Linked DNA regions of Homo sapiens: regions 1, 3, 4 and 5 are each linked to region 2. The links are contacts of gene promoters, found by promoter capture Hi-C in blood cells and fetal thymus (Javierre and others, 2016). All regions are on one chromosome and are shown on one strand. Each heading gives the region's core, a stretch centred on a gene start or on the middle of the fragment in contact. The rest is flanking DNA. Distances are from core to core; before and after follow the strand shown. Region 1 overlaps DNAH3 (dynein axonemal heavy chain 3). Region 2 holds the start of ERI2 (ERI1 exoribonuclease family member 2). Region 3 overlaps DNAH3 (dynein axonemal heavy chain 3). Region 4 overlaps DNAH3 (dynein axonemal heavy chain 3). Region 5 has its middle 24 kb from the start of CRYM.

What was found. Contacts are between HindIII fragments. The CHiCAGO score rates a contact against its expected background, and 5 or more counts as called.
Region 1: a fragment that was not itself captured here is called in contact with the fragment with the promoter of ERI2 in region 2 in 4 of 17 cell types (monocytes, M1 macrophages, M2 macrophages and 1 more); the score reaches 6.4 in monocytes.
Region 3: a contact is called between a fragment that was not itself captured here and the fragment with the promoter of ERI2 in region 2, in 4 of 17 cell types (M2 macrophages, monocytes, endothelial precursors and 1 more). The highest score is 8.7, in M2 macrophages.
Region 4: a contact is called between a fragment that was not itself captured here and the fragment with the promoter of ERI2 in region 2, in 4 of 17 cell types (monocytes, M2 macrophages, M1 macrophages and 1 more). The highest score is 5.9, in monocytes.
Region 5: a contact is called between a fragment that was not itself captured here and the fragment with the promoter of ERI2 in region 2, in 3 of 17 cell types (endothelial precursors, erythroblasts and monocytes). The highest score is 8.7, in endothelial precursors.

The regions. Positions count from the first base shown.
Region 1 is chr16:21,063,664-21,066,363 of GRCh38, forward strand. The region is part of intron 24 of DNAH3 (dynein axonemal heavy chain 3); the gene reads right to left. Among named protein-coding and RNA genes, the nearest start is that of DNAH3, 86 kb to the right of the region's middle. The HindIII fragment of the contact is 4,788 bases long and covers 1-2,700 here.
Region 2 is chr16:20,805,122-20,807,821 of GRCh38, forward strand. ERI2 (ERI1 exoribonuclease family member 2) reads right to left here and starts at 1,351. Exons shown (of 9, transcript NM_001142725.2): 1 at 1,287-1,351. The coding sequence starts at 1,309. It overlaps REXO5 (RNA exonuclease 5), which reads left to right and starts at 1,406. Exons shown (of 20, transcript NM_030941.3): 1 at 1,406-1,584; 2 at 1,831-1,970. The coding sequence starts at 1,833. RefSeq lists enhancers at 547-1,492, 1,241-1,350, 2,071-2,210. The HindIII fragment of the contact is 22,874 bases long and covers 1-2,700 here.
Region 3 is chr16:21,098,800-21,101,499 of GRCh38, forward strand. The region is part of intron 16 of DNAH3 (dynein axonemal heavy chain 3); the gene reads right to left. Among named protein-coding and RNA genes, the nearest start is that of DNAH3, 51 kb to the right of the region's middle. The HindIII fragment of the contact is 3,136 bases long and covers 1-2,700 here.
Region 4 is chr16:21,133,948-21,136,647 of GRCh38, forward strand. It overlaps DNAH3 (dynein axonemal heavy chain 3), which reads right to left. Exons shown (of 62, transcript NM_001347886.2): 7 at 2,377-2,566; 8 at 312-507. Among named protein-coding and RNA genes, the nearest start is that of DNAH3, 16 kb to the right of the region's middle. The HindIII fragment of the contact is 288 bases long and covers 1,125-1,412 here.
Region 5 is chr16:21,300,551-21,303,250 of GRCh38, forward strand. It overlaps a transcript of CRYM not described here and the pseudogene ABCA15P. Among named protein-coding and RNA genes, the nearest start is that of CRYM, 24 kb to the left of the region's middle. RefSeq lists a silencer at 1,136-1,395 and an enhancer at 1,838-2,426. The HindIII fragment of the contact is 2,136 bases long and covers 188-2,323 here.

The DNA of each region.
Region 1 (2,700 bases), core at 57-2,556, 260 kb after region 2:
TCCCGAGTAGCTGGGACTACAGGCGCATGCCACCACGCACGGCTAATTTTTGTATACTTTGTAGAGATGGGGTCTTGCCATGTTGGCCAGGCTAGTCTCAAACTCCTGGGCTCAAGTGATCCATCCACCTCACCTCCCAGAGTACTGGGACTGTAAATGTGAGCCACTGCACTCAGCCCTTTACTATCTTTTAAATTAGAGATAATAAGACAATTTCATCTCTTGTTCAGGCCTAAAAGCAGCAACAACAAACCTTCAGAAAATGTCCAATATTCAAACCTGTACTGTGACCATCAGGCTGAAAGTTCTATGATGGAGGGATTGTGTGATTATGGTCTTTACCAAATATGGTGGATTACAAAAATGGCCACGATATTTACAGTTCCTCTCATCAAGGGGTGGAGTCTGTTTTCACATTTCTCAAACTTGAGCTGGCTCTGTGTCTTGCTTTGGCTAATAGAATGTAAGTGAACATGAGTCTGTGCACGTTCTAAGCCTAGGCATCAAGAGGCCATGATGCTTTCACTCTTGCTGCTCTTAGGAACCCTGTGACCACCACCATATAAATAAACCCAGGCTAGTCTTCTACAGGATAAAAGACATGTGGCCCAAATACCTGTTGTCCAGCCAGTAGGAAGCCAATGACCAGACAAGCAATTAAGGATGCTGACTGATGGCTGACTGCAGTCATGAGTGAGCCCCAGTGAGGCCAGAAGAACCACCCAGCCAAGCCCAGCTCAATCTGCCAACCTAGAGAATTCTGAGCTAAACTGATCATGTGAAACATGATTGTTGTTTCACACTTCTAACTTTTGGGGTCATTTGTTACTCAGCAAAGCAAACGAATACACTGTATCTACAGTGTTGAGCAAGTACAAAGAGTAATAATTATTTGTTGCTGATCAACTAACAAATATCCAGTGAGATGTCAATTTCTCCCACTCCCAAGTGAAATTCAAATGGGTGATCTCTATGGATATACACTCCCTCTATCTCCATCATGTGCTATAATGAATAAGGCTCAATGGCCATAAGAGTAATAATACATTCGTATAATTTAAAATTAAAATCTTTTTTTAGCAATCTGTATTTTCAAGATGAAATTAACTTAAATTATGTGACTATCAACAACATTCTCAAAGTGTTTGCTGAGAGTGTTTAATTTTATTTTATAAAAATGCATAAATATTGAGGTAGGTGTGTGTGTGTGTGTGTGTGTGTGTGTGTGTGTGTGTGTGTTTAACTTAGGGTAAAAATGTGGCTCAGAGAGGTTAAATGGCTGAATATCTTATCCAGACTTCCTGGGTATCAATTCTAGCTTGATCATTTTACCAGTCTTGTATCTTTGGGCAAATCATTATTTTCTCATTTATAAAACAGGGACAATAATAATGTTCCCAAACCCATAAGAGTATTACAAAGATTAAATTAGTTAGTTAGTAAGTGTAAAGCACTTAGAGCAGGGTCCTGGTGTAAGGAAATGCTATATTAGTGCTATTATTCATATTTTTTTTTGAGAGAGAGTCTCGCTCTGTCACCCAGGCTGGAGTGCAGTGGCACCATCTCGGCTCACCACAATCTCTGCCTCCCGGGTTCAAGCAATTCTCCTGCCTCAGCCTCCCAGATAGCTGGGATTACAGGCACCCACCACCACGCCCAGCTGATTTTTGTATTTTCAGTAGAGACAGGGTTTCATCATGTTGGCCAGGCTGGTCTCGAACTCCCAGCCTCACGTGATCTGCCCACTTCGGCCTCCCAAAGTGCTAGGATTACAGGCAGGAGCCACCACGCCTGGTCTATTATTCATATTTTAATTAGGAATAACAGGAGTGGGTCTAGAACTAGAAGCCCAAACCTCAGGTGTTTCCTGAGTTTAATCTCTTCCCAAGCCTTATGTGTCAAAACCAGGGTTCCTTCCACTATACTGTGCTGTCCAATACAAAAGCTATTAGCCCCATGTGGCTATTTACATTAAAAAGTAATATTAACTAAGTTAAAAATTGGCTTCCTCAGTCACCTCAACCACATATAAAGTGCTCAGTGGCCACTGGCAGCTAAGGGCTACTATATTGGACAGTACGGACAAAGAACATTCCTATCATTGCAGAAAGTTCATTGGATAATGCTGAATTGAATAAATACCAAAGATACTTCTGAGTTTGTTTATTTATTTATTTATTTGAGACGGAGTCTTGCTCTGTCACCCAGGCTGGAGTGCAGTGGTATGATCTCGGCTCACTGCAACCTCCACCTCCCAGGTTCAAGCAATTCTCCTGCCTTAGCCTCCCAAGTAGCTGGGATTACAGGTGCCCCCCACCACACCTGGCTAATTTTTGTATTTTTAGTAGAGGCGGGGTTTCAACATGTTGGCCAGGCTGGTCTTGAACTCCTGACCTCGGGTGATCCGCCCCCTCGGCCTCCCAAAGTGCTGGGATTACAGGCATAAGCCACCGTGCTCAGTCATACTTCTGAGTTTCTAACAAATCATTTTTTGTTTTTTTTTTTGTTTTTTTTGGTAAACAGCAGGGAACTAACTTTGTCTCCATATAAAGAAACGCTAAAATTTATGTTTCTTAAAGGTAAATTAGGATCAAACATCCTAAGTGGGGTCAAATGACATGGAGTGACCATCAATGGTGAACTAGTCATGGATAGATTATCAGGAATGTCAGGAGTGAGAATTCACCTTTCCGAAACTAA
Region 2 (2,700 bases), core at 101-2,600:
TTGTGAATTAAAAGGATCACTAGGCCAGGCACCGTGGCTCACACCTGTAACCCCAGCACTTTGGGAGGTTGAGGCGGGTGGATCACCTGAGGTCGGGAGTTCGAGAACAGTCTGACCAACATAGAGAAACCCCATTTCTACTAAAAATACAAAATTAGCTGGGTGTGGTGGTGCATGCCTGTAATCCCAGCTACTTGGGAGGCTGAGGCAGGAGAATGACTTGAACCCGGGAGGCAGAGGTTATGGTAAGCCGAGATCGCACCACTGCACTCTAGCCTAGGCAACAAAACTCCGTCTCAAAAAAAAAAAAAAAGATCACTAGAAAATGGGTTTGTAAAAAGTAGAGGTTCCTCTTCAAAGACTTCCTTCCCCGTCTAATTAGGAATAAATAGTAACTTCTCTTAGAGCAAAATTTATTCAAAGACCTGTGCTAACATTCTTAAATATCTGCTAGATATAATAAAGAAATCAATGTACTTTATGTTCTTAGCTCCCACAATTTAGCCTAAATATTTGCCCTGGCATGCTTATACTGGTCCAATCAAACATTAGGTCATAGCCTGTTCCTCTTCCTTACTTAAAAGTGTTTTTACCTTTCTCAGCATTCCACAAGTTACTTCCTTCTTCCTTTGTTCTCCTCTGCCTTTGCCTCTTTTAAAAAGTTCTATGTTGCTAGTCAGTCGGGACAAATACAGAATGTGAGGTCCCGTTCCAGCCAAAGGAAACCGGACACAGCAGTAGGGTGGACGCGCCACGTTATAAATGACCCTGTCTCCTTTGTTCAGTGTACTCTCCTGGCAAAACTGCTGGCGAGTGTACCCTTTCTGCAGGAAGTAAAAATGGCCTTACTAAATAAATTAAATTTAAGTTTAAGTTCTATTTCTTTACAGCACCGAGGAACGAGCATTTCGAACAGGTTGAACACCTTGACAGATTCAGTGTGTGGCCTGCCTGAGACCTCCAACCAGTCTGCAGGGCACTGTCACGTCCAGTCGTTTCCCAAGGCCTAAAATAGGCAGGCACTGGCTCAAGGCCACACAGTCAAGGCCCCAGGGTTCGTCCGCCTCGGGCTCCTGTCACCCTCGGGTAGAAGGTGGCCCAAGGCTGAAGACCGAGGTCCAGGGAGGCGCCTTTCCAACCGTGCCAGAGAGGGCAGGTCGCAGACGCCGGGGCTGCGGGGAATAGAGGCCCTCACCGCAGATGCCACCTGCCGTGCCCTGCTCTGCGGCCAACGCCAGCGCTGGACCCGGAGCTACCCGCCCCCGACCCGGAACTCCCTCGAGTACCGCGCGAGCCGCTTGGTCGCCATTCCCGACACTCCTTGCTTTTCCAAGTCCAGCTGCCGGAAGTCGCTCGACTTCTACTTCCGGTCCGTTCAAAAAGCCCGCGAGGCTGAGGGGCGGTTGTTGTTGGCAGCTGTGGCTAAGGAGGGGAGAACCTCTGCTCCCCGCCCGTCTTCTCTTCTGCGTTTCCCGGGCTAGGGGGCGTGGGGAGTGGTTTTAGGCGGCGAAGCCGCTCGGCAGCACCTTCCTTCTTTGCCAGGCAGACGCCCGTTGTAGCCGTTGGGGAACCGTTGAGAATCCGGTAACCGATGCGGACGGTAAAGCCGTTTGGGTTAGAGCGGCGCGGGTGTCCAGTCCGCGGAACGGGGAGATCGTTGGCACCTTCGCTTTTTTAGGGGAACGGGGATAGTTCGGTAAACTGAATTGAGAAGCGGATCCGAGGGAGGTTGAAAGCTGTCAAGCCCGTGTAGCTCTCCCGCTAGGAGGCGGCACGCGGGGGAATAGGGGCGCTGGAGTTTCCCCAGCTCTACCTCATCTTTCTCCACAGCCATGGAGCCAGAGAGGGAAGGGACCGAGAGACACCCCAGGAAGGTCAGGGAAAGCAGGCAGGCCCCAAATAAGCTGGTCGGGGCAGCTGAGGCGATGAAAGCCGGTTGGGATCTCGAGGAGAGTCAGCCCGAGGCCAAGGTGAGCAACGGGGATCCCGAGCAGGCGGCCCTAGGCGGTTTGGAGCTCCCGGACCCTCGCCCAACCGCCGTCGGGGGCACTGGATTCGGGCGGGCTCTCCGCCCTGGCCTCTCCGAACCTGATCCCTGATCATTAAAATGGGAATGAGTGTAATACCACCTTCCTGCAACAAGGCTGTCATTGGCTGTCACTGGGATAGTGAGTCGGCCGAGTGCGGTGGCTCATGCCTGTAATTCCAGCACTTTGGGAGGCCGAGGCGGGCGGATCACGAGGTCAGGAGTTCGAGACCAGCCTTGTCAACATGGAGAAATCCCCGTCTCTACCAAAAACACACACACAAAATTAGCCAGGCGTGGTAGTGGGTGACTGTAATCCCACCTACTTGGGAGGCTGAGGCAGGAGAATCGCTAGAACCCAGGAACCAGAGGTTGCAATGAGCCAAGACCACGCCATTACACTCCACCCTGGACAACAAGAAAGAAATCACGTCTCAGAAAAAAAAAAAAAAAAAAAAAAACTGGGATGGTGGGCCGGGTGCAGTGGCTCACGCCTGTAATCCCAGCAGTTTGGGAGGCCAAGGCGGGAGCATCATTTGAGGCCAGGAATTCAAGACCAGCCTGGGCAATATAGCAAGGACCCCATCTCTTAAAAAAAAAAAACAAAAAACAAAACAAAAAAAAAACTGCCTGTACATAATAGGAATGTTCATCGATATCCTGGGGCACAAAAA
Region 3 (2,700 bases), core at 181-2,680, 290 kb after region 2:
GACTTTGCATTTTGTGCACTTTCAAAACATCAGCACTGCTTGCCCATATTTAAGCCTGCAGACAATTTGATCAGTTACCTGCAGATTTCCTCCCCCAATACTCCCAACTCCATCTTTCTCTCTCTCTCTCAAGATAAATGAAGATGAAAAAATAAGTTAAACTACCTATAAGACCACCTCCCAGAAATCGAGCTGTTGTGAGCCTGTTGGTGGTTAAACATTTCCAGATATTTTCCTGTACAGGTAAATACGTATAAGATATATGTACACGTATACATACTGTTTATTCATTCAGCCATTAGACATTTATTATTGAGTGCCTAATATATTCTATAACTGCCCTAGGCATCAGGAATATATTTGCGAAGTATGCTATTAAGTTCTCTACCTTCATGGAGCTTCTATTTTAACTGAGGGAGACCTAGACAATAGACATGGATGGATGGATGGATGGATGGATGGATGGATGGATGGACAGATGGATGGATGGATGAATGGATGGATGGTTGGATGAATGGATGAATAAATCCATAGACAGGACAAACAATAAAATATTTCTGTTAGTAATAAATGCTCTGAAGAAAATAAAATAGGGCAGAATGACTAGCAGACGGAAGTGGAGGGCTACTGTAGCTACAGTGACCAGGAGAGACCTTTCCAAAGATTTATCAACTTCATCCATATTATCAACAAAGCAGGTCTCAATGAGAACTGCTCCCTTTTTCTAATGAGGTAGAATAATATAGTGTGAAGTGGACAGGGTCTTGAGACAAACAAGCTAGCTTCAAATTCCCACCTTGCCACTTAGTAGCTATGTAGTCTTGGGAAAGTCACTTAAACTCTCTGTGCCTCGGGTAGATAAAACAAGGATAGAAAAAATGCCAGCTTAATAGTTAAAGTCAATAAGAACAACAATAACAAAAAAAAGCTCAGAATTGAGCCTGGTATACAATAGTCAATACATAAGTGTTTGCTCACATTCACTAAAATGTAAACTCTATAAATAGTTGATTTTTACTTATTTATTAATTTTTACCCAGCCCTGTTCAAGGAAATAAATATGTTTCTTGTCTCCTTAATTCCTTTTAGTGTCTTCAGCAGTTAGACCATCTGATACATGGCAAATAATCAATACTCTTCAAACAAATAAGGGAACTTGTCATTGAGATCAGCTATAGTGACATTTCATAAATTTGGTTATCCTAAGAATGCTTAATTCTGTTATGGCAGTTTTAAAGTTGCTTTTTTCTTAAACATGATTTAGAGAATTAATTTTCAAGTGGTTTGAGTCTCTCTCTCTCTCTTTATCTCTTTCTTTCTGGAGTGCAGTGGCACAATCTCGGCTCATTGTAACCTCTGCCTCCCAGTTTTAAGTGATTCTCCAGCCACAGCCTCCCAAGTAGCTGAGATTATAGGTGCCCGCCACCATGCCCAGCTAATTTTTGTATTTTTCATAGAGATGTGGTTTCACCATGTTGGCCAGGCTAGTCTCGAACTCCTGACCTCAGGTGATTCGCCCACCTTGGCCTCCCAAAGTGCTGGGATTACAAGCATGAGCCACATATTCCGGCCTCCATTCCTTTTCTCAGCTTTTTATTTTTGTTTTGTAATAAGCTGTAATTTTAGACTCTGGTCAGTGTTCATTTTCAAGAATATCCTTAGTGTAAAAACATTTCATTCATTCACTCATTAAAATGGTGAACATCCACTATAAGCAAGGAACCGTGTTCTATCTGAATCCTTAGGCTTTGGTGAAACACAATGTCGGGTGCTCTCCCTAAGATGTCTTCCCTTCTTCCTCCAGGGTGCCAAAGTGTTTTCCTTTGCCCTTTTATGGCAGAGAGCAGCAGCTCACATCCCTGAGTCATCCATCGTGTAAATATCACATAACTTCCAGAACCACGGAACCTACCACTGAGTTGGATGAAATGATGGGGGAGAGAGGCAATGCTTATTATTCTTCTGTTGTACATGCAATTAGGTGCTGCTAAGTGCCTTTTCACATCATTAAATTCTTTTTGAAGCTCCAAATACTATACTCACATAGAAATCTCTGATGAAAGCAGTTTTGAATTCCTCCCAGAGGGCAACTGCATGTAAGCTCAGTGATTACCTTAAAATATTACTATTATTATTGTTTCTAATTTCTTATAATTGCTAAGTACATTATAGTTTCCAAAGTACTTTCATGTCCCCACAACACACACACATACAAACAACTGCTCCTTGACTTACAATGGGGTTACATCCCTATAAACCTATTGCAATTTGAAAATACTGGAAATTGAAAATTCATTTAATACACCTAACCTACTGAACATCAGAGCTTAGCCTAGCCTATCTTAAATGCACTCAGAACACTCACATTAGTCCACAGTTATCATCTAAGACAAAGCCTGTTTTATAATAAAGTGTTGACTATCCCATGTAACTTATTGTATACCGTACTGAAAGTGAAAAACATAATGGTTGTATGGGTACTCAACATATCACTTTCACACCATCAGAAAGTCAAAGAATCGTAAGTTGAACCATCGTAAGTCAGTGACTAGCTGTGTGTATGTGTGTGTGTATATATGTAAATTCCATACATATTTCATATAAATAAATTCCTATATATATATCCCAATATATTATATTCCATAGAATAATACAATCATTAGCAAATAGTAGGCACTCATGAAATTAGGTTGAATAAGA
Region 4 (2,700 bases), core at 19-2,518, 330 kb after region 2:
ACATATATGCCTGTAAAGCAGCAGAGCTAGGAGTTAGACCTGAGCAGGCTGGCTCCAAGTCTGTGCAATTAAGCAGGATATTCCAGTGCTTAGAGACAGGCACAGGGTGCCCTGGGGACACAAAGGAGGGCCACGTAAGCCTGCAAGGAAAGGTGTCACTTATAATTCACATGCATATTTGGCCTAGATTTTTTTTTCTTTCATTTCTCTATGCTGTCAGGGCTACCCCCACTGTGCACAGCAGAATAGGCTTGCTTACACGTGGATGTGGTCAAGAAAGGGAATGAAAAAAAAAGGGAGGGACTTCTTACTCTGCAAACCACAGTTCTTTCAGCCTGAGCATCATGGGGTTCACCGTGTGCAGATGCTCCTCGTTCCACTTCTTGGCGCTCCTGTAGACACTGTGCCAGGGCACAGGGGCCCGGATCACTCTTTGAGGAAACAAGCGGGGGATGCTCTCAATAAAGAGCCGTTTTCTCTCCATTGGGTCCATGAGGATGTAATCAACTACAACCGGAAAGGGCGAACACCTCATTATTAAGCTCTAAGGGTTGTGCTCTTAGCTTCAACTCATTTAGTTTTGTTTTTAATATAGAGACGGGGTCTCACTAAGTTGGCCAGGCTGGTCTCAAACTCCTGGGCTCAAGTGATCCTCCCACCTCAGCCTGCCAAAGTGCTGGGATTACAGGCATGAGTTGCTATGCCTGGCCTTAGAGTCAACTCTTTTTATTTATTTATTTATTTATTTTTTGAGATGGAGTCTCGCTCTGTCGCCCAGGCTCGATTGCAATGGTTCAATCTCAGCTCACTGCAACCTCCACCTCCGCCTCCTAGGTTCAAGCCATTCTCCTGCCTCAGCCTCCTGAGTAGCTGGGATTACAGGTGGCTGCCACCACACCTGCCTAATTTTTTGTATTTTCAGTAGATACAGGGTTTTGCCATGTTGGCCAGGTTGGTCTTGAAATCCTGACCTCAGGTGATCCACCCGCCTCGGCCTCCCAAAGTGCTGCGATTATAGGTGTGAGCTAGCACACCTGGCCTTAGCTTCAACTCTTAGAATATAAATGAGCCTCTGTCCATTTGCAAGGTCATGGGTAATCCCCTGGGTATAATTCAACTGGTGAAGCTTCACTCTTGGTGTTTGTTTTCTTTCTGAGGGTATTTTACAGAAAGGAGGAGTGTGACTTCACGGTGTGGAGCACTTAGAATCTGGGGTTGAGCCCTGGTAGGATGTCTAGTATCAGGCAGGACAATGAAATAGGATTTGCTGATAACTCATTAGTCACTGATTGATTTCTCACACCAAAATAGATGCACACAAAAAAACCCACCATGGATGATACCATCCATTATATTTACAAATAGAAGTTTAAAGACCAAATGTTTTCCATACTAAGAAAGGTTGGTAGAAAAGCTTCATAGAGGATGTAACATTTGTGCTGGGTCATAAAGAACAAGTAGCAGGCTGGGTGCGGTGGCTCACACCTGTAATCCCAGCACTTTGAGAGGCTGAGGTGGGTAGATCACTTGAGGTCATGAATTCGAGACCAGACTGGCCAACATGGCGAAACCTTGTCTCTACTAAAAATACAAAAATTAGCTGGGAGTGGTGGTGCGTGCCTGTAGTCCCAGCTACTCAGGAGGCTGAGGCAGGAGAATTGCGTGAACCCAGGGGTCCGCCCAGGTAGGTCTTGAAATCCTGACCAACCTCTGCAGTTGCAGTGAGCAGAGATCACACCACTGCACTTCAGCCTGGGCGACAGAGCAAGACTGTCTCAAAAAAGAAAAAAAAAAGAAGTGTAGAATCTCAGCCAGGTGTGATGGCTCATGTCTATAATCCCAGCACTTTGGGAGGCCGAGGCAGGAGGATCTCTTGAGTCCAGGATGTTCAAGACAAGCCTAGGCAACATAGGGAGACCTTGTCGCTAAAAAAAAAAAAAAAAAATTGTTTTAAACTTACAAATGTAGAATCTCAGGCCCCAGGTTCAGATCTACTGAATCGCAATCTGCATTTTAAGATCTGCAGGTTACAGGGATGCACGTGAATATGTGAAGTGCTGGTGTAGACATCAGTGATGGTAGGGGGATGCAGGACTTTGAATTAGCGGTTAAATGATGTTTTGGGTATTTCCAGTGGAATCAGGGTGGCAAATGACAAAGTGAGAAGAAAGAAGATGCCTTCCAGGCCAGGCATGGTGCCTCATGCCTGTAATCCTAGCACTTTGGGAGGCTAAGGAGGGAGGATTGCTTGAGCCCAGGAGTTCCAGACCAGCCTGAGCAACAAAGCAAGACCTTGTCTCTACAAAAATAAAAATAAAAAAGAAGGTGCCCTCTACATAGAAGCTCCCCAGCCCCCTTTATGCCCACCAGCCTTACCGATGCTTTTCATGAGGCTACAGTAATAGTCATTCTCCTTCTCCTGCACGAGGACCACCATCAGGGGCTCCAGGAAGGGACTCGTCAGCAGCGTGTTAGAAATCAGCTTTGAAATCCGAACCATCACTTCACCCTCCTCAGGGGCAATCATGTCTTTGCGAATTCCATTGGTCAGATAGTAATAGTATCTCTTCCATAAACAAACCACCAGCGAGAAAATGGTCATGATTGGATCATGGGTTCAACTGTCCTGCCCATCAGCTGCCAAGGGACCCCATTCATACAGCATTCGTCTGCACCCTTCACTTGCCATAACCATGCATT
Region 5 (2,700 bases), core at 6-2,505, 500 kb after region 2:
ATGCCCTACACGTGAGTCCCAATAAACTCATCTACTCATCAAGCTGGACTGGTCTGAGTCATTCTTTGGTCTGTTGGCTCCTTTCCCAGTTTGGGGCGGAGGATGTTCTATACAGTCCTGGATTTTTCCCCAACCAGGAAGAGAACTCCTTGTCCTGCAGTGTTCCTCTTGCGCCCTCTCCTGACAAAGCTTAACTTCGGAGCTGGAGCAAGTCGTATCCGGCATTGCAGGGAAGAGTGAATTTGGCCTGTGATCCAATCAGAAGCTGCGATTCTAAACAGGAAGCCACACTGGATGCGAGAATTGGGGTGGGGCGCGCCAAGAGGAGCAAGCATTATAGAACGTGGGGAGCATGAGAAATACACGGAGGTGGAAACGCCGGAGTGGCTGGCGGGTAAAGGCAGCGGGCGCAGATGAAGCGGGCTGGGCGTCCCACGCGCAGAACCGTCCCGGACAGAAGCCGCAGGGCTGCGCTGGCTGGAAAAAGGAACGCGAGTACAGCGCGCGTGGCGCGGGGTCTGCTCCAGGACGGAATCTTTTGGGTGGCCCGCATGAGGGGTTTGCAGGACCCCGGGCCTTTGGGAAGTTATCTGCTAAACTCCAGTAGACCCTGAGGAGCAGCGGCTCATGAATCTTCTTAAACTTCTGTCATCAGCGGCTGGGCCAGCTGAAGGTGACCATGGCACACGAGGGAGAGAGAAGCCCGCGAGAGGCGGAGAAATGTGGGGTCGTCCAGGAGGGTCGACAAGGCAAAGAACCTGAAGACGACCCAAAAGGGTACCTAGGTGGGGCCCTTTCAGGGACTTGGGGCATAGGGTAGGGCGCATGGGACGAGGTGGGTGAGCGCAAGGGACGAGATGGGTGTGCGCATGGGACGAGGTGGGTGGGAGCATGAGACGAGGTGGGTGGGGCGGTGGGTGAGGTCTCCGCCCCCAGACGGGCTGGCGAGGAAGCAGGGAAGAAGTAACGTTGGGCTGGTGAGGCAACAGGTGGGGCGCACTGGAGCTGCGGGATAATAGGTGGAACAAACTGGGGACTACACTCGTGGGCGCACGTGCGGAAGAGGGACTGAGGAGGTTCTTGCGTGCTCCCCTCGAGCACCGCCGACAGCTTCACCCGCACCTCCTGCCTTCCGCACCGCTGACTCCTACCGCTCCGCGCACTGCGCGCCCCCAGCCCTAGTGCAGCCAGCTCCCGGCCGGGTCCGCGCGAGGGCCAGGCTGCCAACCTGCCCGCGGGCGGCTGGTGGTTGGGGAGGGCGTTGGGAGGAGGAGTCCCGCCGGGTGGACGCGCGCCCTTCAGCGGCGGAGGCGGAGGCGGCAGCGGCGAGGCCTGAGGGTGCGTGCTAGGGAGTCCTGGCGCGTCCTTCTTCTGCCGGCGTCCCCCTGCGCTTGCAGCTGCTCCCCGACGCCCGGGAGGCCCACCCGCTAGCCGCGATGGGCGCGCAGAGCCCAAAAGGGCGACCCCCAAACAAAACTCACGCATATAAATCCTCCAGAGACTTCCTCATCCCCCCGCCAACACACACACACCCACACACACATACACACAATCAAATCAAATAGAAGCACTGTTAGGAATTTTATATTGGCTATGCAAAGTGCTTGAACGCACTGACTTTGGAGGCAAATGCCTTGTCCCTAGTCCTGACTAGTCCAGAATTTATTTGCTGTGACCTATGGCAAATTGCTTGGTTTCTCTAAGCCTCCATTTCCTAAGGCTTATATCTGAAAATAACTATAAGAGGAAAGGATGCTATTGTATCCAACTCAGAGGGCAGTCCTGATACTTACATTGCGAGAACATGTTAAGTGTTCCATAAATGGCAGAAGGGGCTGTGGAAGTTCAGTGATTATAGGTAGTTTAATTTGTCTTAGTTTTCCTTTGTGAAAGCATAAATTACACCAGAGAAAGTCACATATGTAAGGAATACTTTATGCAAAGCTGTTGTCCTAGGGAAGAGAGACCAGAACTCAGTCTAAACTAACTCTGCTGAAACAAAGTGGGGCAGGGTTTTTAAGCTCTAGGATGAGAGTAGAAAGGTGCTGGAGGGCTGTCGGAAGCATACTGAGTTGTTTGCTGAGTTTACAAGTGTTTCCTCCGTGATTAGGCCAGCTGTGTTTGCTAATTGGCTCTCAGGGAAGTTAGGCTCCTACCCTCCCACAGAAACTGGGAGATAGGGGGACCGTCTTCCTTGATGATTGCATTTCAAAGGAATGGCTCCCAGGTCCTTGACAAAGATGATTCTGGTTTGTAAAACTAGTAAGAGGCTATTAAAAAGAGTTACAGATATCTCAAGACAGAGAAAGAATTTACAGTGAAAAGCTTTCTAAAGAAAATGCTCTGTATTAATCTGTTTTCACACTGCTGATAAAGACATACCCAAGACTGGGCAATTTACAAAAGAAAGAGGTTTATTGGACTTACAGTTCCACGTGGCTGAGGAGGCCTCACAATCACGGCAGAAGGTGAAAGGTATATCTCACATAGTGGCAGACAAGAAAGCTTGTGCAGGGAAACTCCCCATTTGAAAACCATCAGTTCTTATGAGACTTACTCACTATCATGAGAAGAGCACGGGAACAACCCATCCCCATGATTCAGTCATCACTCACAGGGTCCCTCCCATAACACGTGGGAATTATGGGAGCTACAAGATGAGATTTGGGTGTGGACACAGAGTCAAACCATATCATGCTC